2 separate regions of the Homo sapiens genome follow, and region 2 is linked to region 1. The links are contacts of gene promoters, found by promoter capture Hi-C in human tissues and cell types (Jung and others, 2019). All regions are on one chromosome and are shown on one strand. The core of a region is centred on a gene start or on the middle of the fragment in contact, and the rest is flanking DNA. Distances in the headings are between cores, read along the strand shown. Region 1 overlaps LY6E-DT (LY6E divergent transcript). Region 2 holds the start of GPIHBP1 (glycosylphosphatidylinositol anchored high density lipoprotein binding protein 1).

Region 1 (3,721 bases), core at 652-3,151:
AGATCTAAAAGGGTGTCAGTCCCTTAGCTGATTCTCTCCTGGGTCAGGAAAAAGGCCTCAGAAGAAGGGGATTCTCTACAGACTGTAGATGTTTCTCCCACAAGAGACAACTTTGCACGGCTACTTCAAGATATGGCAAATAAACGTATATGCATTTAAAATACCTCATTTCCTTCCTTGTCCGTCATGTGATGCTACACCACAGTCAGGCTGGAAAGGCAGCCGTGTTATGTGGGGTTAAATAAAACCCATTTGAGAGACTCTACGGTCTGTAGGGCACACTCCCCAGGCCTCTTAGGTAGGAATTTGGGCAAAAGAAGAAAAAAGGGCCAGAGTTTAGTCCTCAGAACGCTGACGTGGAACCCCCTGCCCTCAGCCAGCTAGCCTGCCCTGCCCTGTTCAAGCACCATGGGGCCAGGAGTGCCTGAGGGTGGAGGCAACTGGAGGCAGCTGGAGGCAACTGGAGGCAGCTGGAGGCAGGCCCTGGAGTGGTGGGCAGCCCTCCCAGCCTCCTAACCCATGCTCAGACAGGTGACCACTGGCAGGCCCAGCTCCAGGCTAGCCCCAGGGACAGGGAGACCAGTCCCCCTCAGTGGGAGTCTGAGAGGGTGACTCTAAGATTCCCCACCAACACCAACCACTGACTGGTGTGGAGGAAGCCCAGGGTGTGGGACCCTAGCACGGTAGGAGGTGGCCGTCAGGACCAGGAGTGTGAGGCTGGTGGGAAGAAAGGACCTTTTGCCAAATAGGAGGTGGTGTCTTCTTTAGGTATGTCAGGGTGGGAGGCTCCCACTCCATGTCTCATTGACCATCAACAACGGTAGCCCCAGATCCCCAGTGCCCAGCCAGCCTCTCTGGGACCTCTCTGTGCAGGTAAGACTTTGTAAACACTGAAGGGGCTCTTCCTGCCTGCTGCATAAAGAAAGACCATGGCATTGCAATAAGGAAAGAGTTTAATAGACAAAAGGCTGGCCACGCTACAGAGATGGAGTTAGCACTCAAACAACCTCATGCAAAACTCACAGGTTAGGGGTTGTTCAAAGACAGTTTTAGGGGAAGGAGTTGGGGAGGCCAGGTAATAGGTGCTTGCTGCTGATTGCTTAGAGCAGAGATGAAATCACAGGGGGTCAACGCTGAGTCCTAAGGACTGAGTCACTTCTGGGTGGGGTCACACGAGTGGGATTGGCAGGTCCAGGTGGGTCCAGGTGGAGCCACGGTCATGCACAAACACTGGAAAAGATTTCTCAAAAAGCCAATCTACAATAGTGGTGTTATCTGCAGGAATAACTGGGGAAGTTGCAGATCTTATAACCTCAGAAAAAAATGGCTGACAACCCTTTCTGTCTGTGCCTTACCAGGACTCAGGCAAGCTCCACCTCCTGGGTTCAAGCAATTCTCATGCCTCAGCCTCCTGGGTAGCTAGGATTACAGACACATGCCACCACACCTGGCTAATTTTTATATTTTTTGGTAGAGATGGTGTTTCACCACCATGTTGGCCAGGCTGGTCTCAAACTCCTGACCTCAAGCGATCTGCCTGCCTTGGCCTCCCAGTGTGCTGGGATTACAGCTGTGAGCCACCATGCCCAGCCCAGTACCTGTTTTTACTGAAGACAAATCATAGTAGGACAAATTTATTTAAAATAATTTTTCATCTTATACTTGGCCTGAGTGTTTGCATAATGTCAGCACGAATAATTATTTGCCATATAGGCCTGTCTTAAAATTGGCTTTGCTGGAACTTTATTCTATAACGAATCCCAGATTTGACTTTTTTTAAAGCCTTGAGCCCAGCCATGATTTATTGGTGCCTGAAAATACCTATATAAATTGGGCAATGTCCTCTCCTCAAGGTCCCAGGATAATTTGGGGCTCCTGAGCCTGTCAGAAAGTGACATTCTTTACATACTACAGGCAAGGAACTCTGTACAGTGACTGTGTAGACAAGGGATGAGGCCAACTTCATAAGTCAGCTTTGACTCCTTAAAGCAGTCTGTTTGTATCCAAAAGTACATCCTTCCGGTCAAAGCTTTGGTAAAATAACCAGTGTCTCCAATTATGTCCTGTTACAAAAGAAAATACATTCTTATTGAACTTATGCAAATAACTATACTGCCGTAAATTAAGTATACTTGCAAATAGTTTTCAAATTTCTACAGAAATCAGGTAGACAGAAATGTACTTCAGAGTTTACTCACAGGAGGGTACTTTACCCAGTTGTGAAAAGCTGTAGAGTGCTGCTAATGCCCCAGTGAAGAAGCTGAGGTCAACATCAGATTTGAAATATTTAAAGTGGATACAAACTTATTTCAGCAATGCAGACAATTAAGTGTGTTTTTGTGGGCAATGGTGCTGTTGGTAAAACATGTCTCCTGATATCCTACACAACAAACAAATTTCCATCAAAATATGTACCAACTGTTTTTGACAACTATGCAGTCACTGTTATGATTGGTGGAGAAACATATACTCTTGGACTTTTTGATACTGCAGGGCAAGACGATGATGACAGATTATGACCGCTGAGTTATCTACAAACAGATGTATTTCCAGTCTGTTTTTCAGTGGTCTCTCCATCTTCATTTGAAAATGTGAAAGGAAAGTGGGTGTCTAAGATAACTCACCACTGTCCAAAGACTCATTTCTTGCTTGTTGGGACCCTAATTCATCTCAGAGATGACCCCTCTACTATTGAGAAACTTGCCAAGAACAAACAGAAGCCCACCACTCCAGAGACTGCTGAAAAGCTGATCCGTGACCTGAAGGCTGTCAGGTATGTGGTGTGTTCTGCACTCACACAGAAAGGCCTAAGGAATGTATTTGATGAAGCAATATTGGCTTCCCTGGAGCCTCCAGAACTGAAGAAGAGCCACAGGTGTGTGCTGCTAGGAACATCTCTCCAGAGCCCTTTCTGCACAGCTGGTGTCAGCATCATACTAAAAGCAATGTTTAACTCAAACTAAAGATTAAAAATTAAAATTCGTTTTTGCAATAATGACAAATGTCCTGCACCTACCCACATGCACTCGTGTGAGACAAGGTCCATAGGTATGGCCCCCTCTTCCCCCTCCCAGTACTAGTTAATTTTGAGTAATTGCGTATTGTCAGAAAAGTGATTAGTACAAGTTTTTGTTTTGTTGCTTCAAAATTTTTTTGTTTAAAAGCAAGGCATGCTTGTGGATGACTCTGTAACAGACTAATTGGAATTGTTGAAGCTGCTCCCTGGTTCCACTCTGGAGAGTAATCTGGGAGATCTTAGTGTGTGTGTGTGTGTGTGTGTGTGTGTGTGTCTCCTCTTTCTTTGGGAGGAGTGTGTGTGGGGTTTATTTTTTAGTCCTTTTTTTTTTTTAATTCATTAACCAGTGGATAGCCCTTAGGGGAGGAGGACGGATTGATTCCACATTCCACTTCCTAGATATGGTTTAGAAAACATGTTCCCCACCTGGGGCTCTCAGGAAGGAGTATAGTAAATGCCTCATTTAATAACAGACTCCTTTTTGAAAGTTGCCTTTTCTCTCCACCTTTGAGTAGATCCAGTATTTGATGAAACTCATGAAAGTGGGTGGAGCCTGTCTTGCCCCTCCTCTTTTCTAGGACACACTATATGTGACTGTGACTTTCAAAGACATTTGTTTGCCATTTGCTGATTTTGGGGGGAAGTTAATTTCTAACTTCTTTCACTAATAAATGAAGAAAAGTATTGCACCTTTGAAATGCACCA
Region 2 (3,721 bases), core at 564-3,063, 220 kb after region 1:
CGCTGGGGAGAAGGGGCGAATGGGGGCGGGGCGATGGGGAGGCGGGGCGACGGGAAGTAGGGGCAGTGGGGGAGGCGGGGCATGGGGTAGACAGGTGTGGGGGAGGCGGGGCACCAGGGAAGCGGGGCGTGGGGGGAGGCGGGGCGTGAGAGAGGCGGGGCAGTGGGGGAGGCGGGGCGTGGGGGGAGGCGGGGCAGTGGGGGAGGCGGGGCAGTGGGGGAGGCGGGGCGTGGGGGGAGGCGGGGCAGTGGGGGAGGCGGGGCAGTGGGGGAGGCGGGGCAGTGGGGGAGGCGGGGCGTGGGGGAGGCGGGCCGAGGGCGAGAGGGCGCAGGGAGGCGGGTGGGGGTGGGGCCACGCGCGGAGGGGCAGGGAAGGGCGGGGCGGGGCGGGGCGGGACGGGGCTGGGGGGGACAGGCATCAGGTATGAAGAGTTTGGGGCTGGCGGGGCGTGTCCGGCTGTGGCGTGGGCACCACTATGGGAGACCCTGGCTTGGCAAGTGACCTTGCAGCCTTGGCTGGGGAAGGGCTAGATGCTGGGTGGGTGCCGGTAGAGTGGAAAGAATGACAGGTTCAGGTGAATTAAGGAAGGATGGTTGACTCGGTGGCTGGGACATTAGAGACAGGTATTCCCAGCCTCAGGCGCTGTCCTAAGCCCAGCAGGTACTGACCCTTGATGGTCACCTCACCCTATGAGGGAGCTGAGGCCTGGGGAACCCAAGGGGCTAGTCCAGAACCCACAGCCGGGGGAAGGAGGAACCGGGTCTTAAACCCAGGTAGCTCACTCCAGAACCAACTCAACCTCTGTTACAGGTGGCCGGCCAGAAAATGCCCCACCCCACCCATTGACAGTCGGGGAAACTGAGGCCTCAGTAGGTGAAGTGCCTGGCCCAAGCACCAAGGCACACAGAGACGCTCAGGCTTGACCCTGGCTCCGGACGTCCAGCCCCTGCCGCTGCCCCACCCCTCTGCTGCCCTTGGGAGAGGGGCAGCTCAGAGCCTCGACTCTGCACTCTGCATCAGCACCCCCCAAGGGCTTGGGTGGGGTCTTGAGAGGAGGGGGTGGCCTCAGGGAGCGACCTGGGCTTTCCAAGCCTCTCCCAGAGCAGCCCGTCTCTCACACAAGGCCAGAAGGCAGGTGGGTGCTGATGGCTTTCCCAGCAAGAGACCGAGGGGGCGGGCCCCCAAGAGCTCCAGAAAGCTCTCCACCGGACACCAGCAGGAACAGCACTGCAGATGGAGCAGCAGGGGCAAAGACCCGAGGTGATAGTGAGGGGCAGCCGGGAGGCCTTGGGCCTAGCAGTGCATTGCTGAGTGTGGGTGAGGAGGAGGTGAGCACGCAGCCTTAGCTTGAGGGCATTGACTGTGTTTTTACTTAAATGCTCTTAAAGGGGCCTGGGTGTGATGCTGACTCTAGGATGACGATGCTTGGCCAGTGACCAGCAAATAGAGGGTCTGTGACCCCAAGGTCCTGTGACTATGGAGCCCAGACATGGGGTTGAGGGGTGTCAGGCATGGCCCATTCCGGGGCGAGGCTCCCTGCCCTGCACTGCAGGGCTGAGGCACTGAGCGGCAAGCCAGGCGAGGGCCAGCACCACCTTCCACCTGCCGTGGCACGGGTGCACAGGACGTTCCAAGGCCAACCACAATGACTTCTCCTTCCCCTCTGGCCCCAGATGTCCTGGAGGGAAACAACAGTCCCTGGCCTGGCGCCTGGAGCTGGGGACCAGTGTGAGGCCCATTGTTTGAGGCTGGAGCTGGTGGGGGCCACTAGGAAGCCCACGGCAATGCCCTTCATCCCACTTACCGCAGCTCCAGAGCCCTGCGGGAGGACTCAGAGTCAGGGACACAGCAGCGTCCGGCGAGATGAAGGCGCTCGGGGCTGTCCTGCTTGCCCTCTTGCTGTTCGGGCGGCCAGGTGCGGGGCAAAGGGTAACCCTGCGGTGAGGGGGCAGCAACAGCAGTCCTGGAGCACAGGGACCTCCAGGGACCCCCAGCAGGGGCTTAGGAAGAAGGAGGGGATGAGGCTGGAGTCCCCAGCCCAGAGCAGCATGGATGGAAGCTGGCCTGGGTCCCCGAGAGTCCCCAAATATCTGCGCCCCTGTTTATGTGGGGTGCGGGGAGGGGCTACCATAAAGGGCCAGCCCACAGCAGCTGCTGTTGTAACTACAATGCCAGGGCACACTCGGCTGCAGGACAGTGAGTAGGGTGAGTAGGGTAGTAGGACAGTGAGTAGGGTGAGTAGGCTGCAGGACAGTGAGTAGGGTGAGTAGGGTGTTCAGGGTAGGGGCCCTCCCCAGCCACCCTGGGGCCCGAGGATGGCTGGGGAGGGCCAAGGAGTTGGGGGCACGATGCTTGCCCAGAGCAGGTGTCCTCCATACCCGGGTAGCTGAGGCTTACAAGCATCCCTGCACGGCCAGGGAGAGGGCAGACACAGCAGGAGGAAGAGGAAGAGGACGAGGACCACGGGCCAGATGACTACGACGAGGAAGATGAGGATGAGGTGGAAGAGGAGGAGACCAACAGGCTCCCTGGTGGCAGGAGCAGAGGTATGGCCGCCCCAACCCCAGAGCCCTGCTGCCTGATCTGCCTGGAGCATTCTGGGCGGGGCTGTGTGATGGAAGCCAGCAGGCCACAGTCCTGCTGTGAGCTTGCCTCCAGCAGAGTGGGGGACACTCAGTACACCCCTCACTGCTGCTCACCATGACACTCAGTTGCCTTCCAGAGTAGGGAACAGGGGAAGAAGCCACCAGCTGGGAGGGTCAGTGGTGCCAGGATGTAGAGGTTAAATAGGAGTTCACCAGGCAGAGAAGGGCTCAGTGGGGGCCTAGGGTGGAGACACAAGCACAGAGGCCCCAGGGTAGGGTTCAGTTTTGTGGGGCAGAGAGAGCAGCAGGGTGGGCCGGTCCTGTACAGGGGAGGGCTGGATTGGCTGCTGCGGGCTGGGGAGCCAGGGAACCGCTTAGAGCAGAGCAGAGTAGGGCTAAGAAGAGCCCACCCTCACTGCCCACCTGACACACCCCTACACGTGGGCCACCCTCTGCTCTCTCCCATCCCGAGAAAAGCAGAGCAAATCGCCGCATCCAACCCGAGGGCCGGCCCCTCCCTAGCCAGGGACCACAGCGTGCCCCACCACACACAGCCCCTCCCTAGCCAGGGCCCCCAGCATGCCCCACCACACACAGCCCACCCCCCTCCCAGGAGCCCCAAGCCTGCCCTCAGCACGAGCCCTGCCCCACACACCCACGAGGTGTCCCCTGTGAGGCCCTCCTCTGCCAGGCCTGGTGCTCCTGGAGGCAGGACTGAGTCAGACCCACCTCCAGGTTTCTGTGACCACGGCAGGAGCCTGGGCAGCATTGTCGCAGGACGTGAGTGATGATGGGAAGTTCGCCCTGCCTGACCCGCAATCCCTTGCCCCCTAAACACACAGGCTCACGCACACAGCACAGCTTACAGGACCAAGTCAGGGGTCGCCCGCCCATCTGAGCAGTGGGTGCTGGAGGCTCACCAGGCTAGGCTTTGGGAGCACAGCTGAGAACGGGGAGGTGGACAGGGACGTGGGAGGAGACCCTGGGGGGCCCGGCCTCGGCCTGAGCCCGCCTTGTCCCCAGTGCTGCTGCGGTGCTACACCTGCAAGTCCCTGCCCAGGGACGAGCGCTGCAACCTGACGCAGAACTGCTCACATGGCCAGACCTGCACAACCCTCATTGCCCACGGGAACACC

Evidence for each region. The method cuts DNA at HindIII sites, captures the fragments that hold promoters and counts their contacts. A contact is called where the count stands out against the background at its distance.
Region 2: the fragment with the promoter of GPIHBP1 here is called in contact with a fragment that was not itself captured in region 1 in 4 of the 25 tissues and cell types used here (adrenal gland, aorta, lymphoblastoid cells and 1 more).

The regions. Positions count from the first base shown.
Region 1 is chr8:142,993,595-142,997,315 of GRCh38, forward strand. All of the region lies in intron 1 of LY6E-DT (LY6E divergent transcript), which reads right to left. It also overlaps the pseudogene CDC42P3. Among named protein-coding and RNA genes, the nearest start is that of LY6E-DT, 23 kb to the right of the region's middle. The HindIII fragment of the contact is 9,153 bases long and covers 1-3,721 here.
Region 2 is chr8:143,211,405-143,215,125 of GRCh38, forward strand. GPIHBP1 (glycosylphosphatidylinositol anchored high density lipoprotein binding protein 1) reads left to right here and starts at 1,814. Exons shown (of 4, transcript NM_178172.6): 1 at 1,814-1,915; 2 at 2,418-2,546; 3 at 3,609-3,721. The coding sequence starts at 1,864. The HindIII fragment of the contact is 48,923 bases long and covers 1-3,721 here.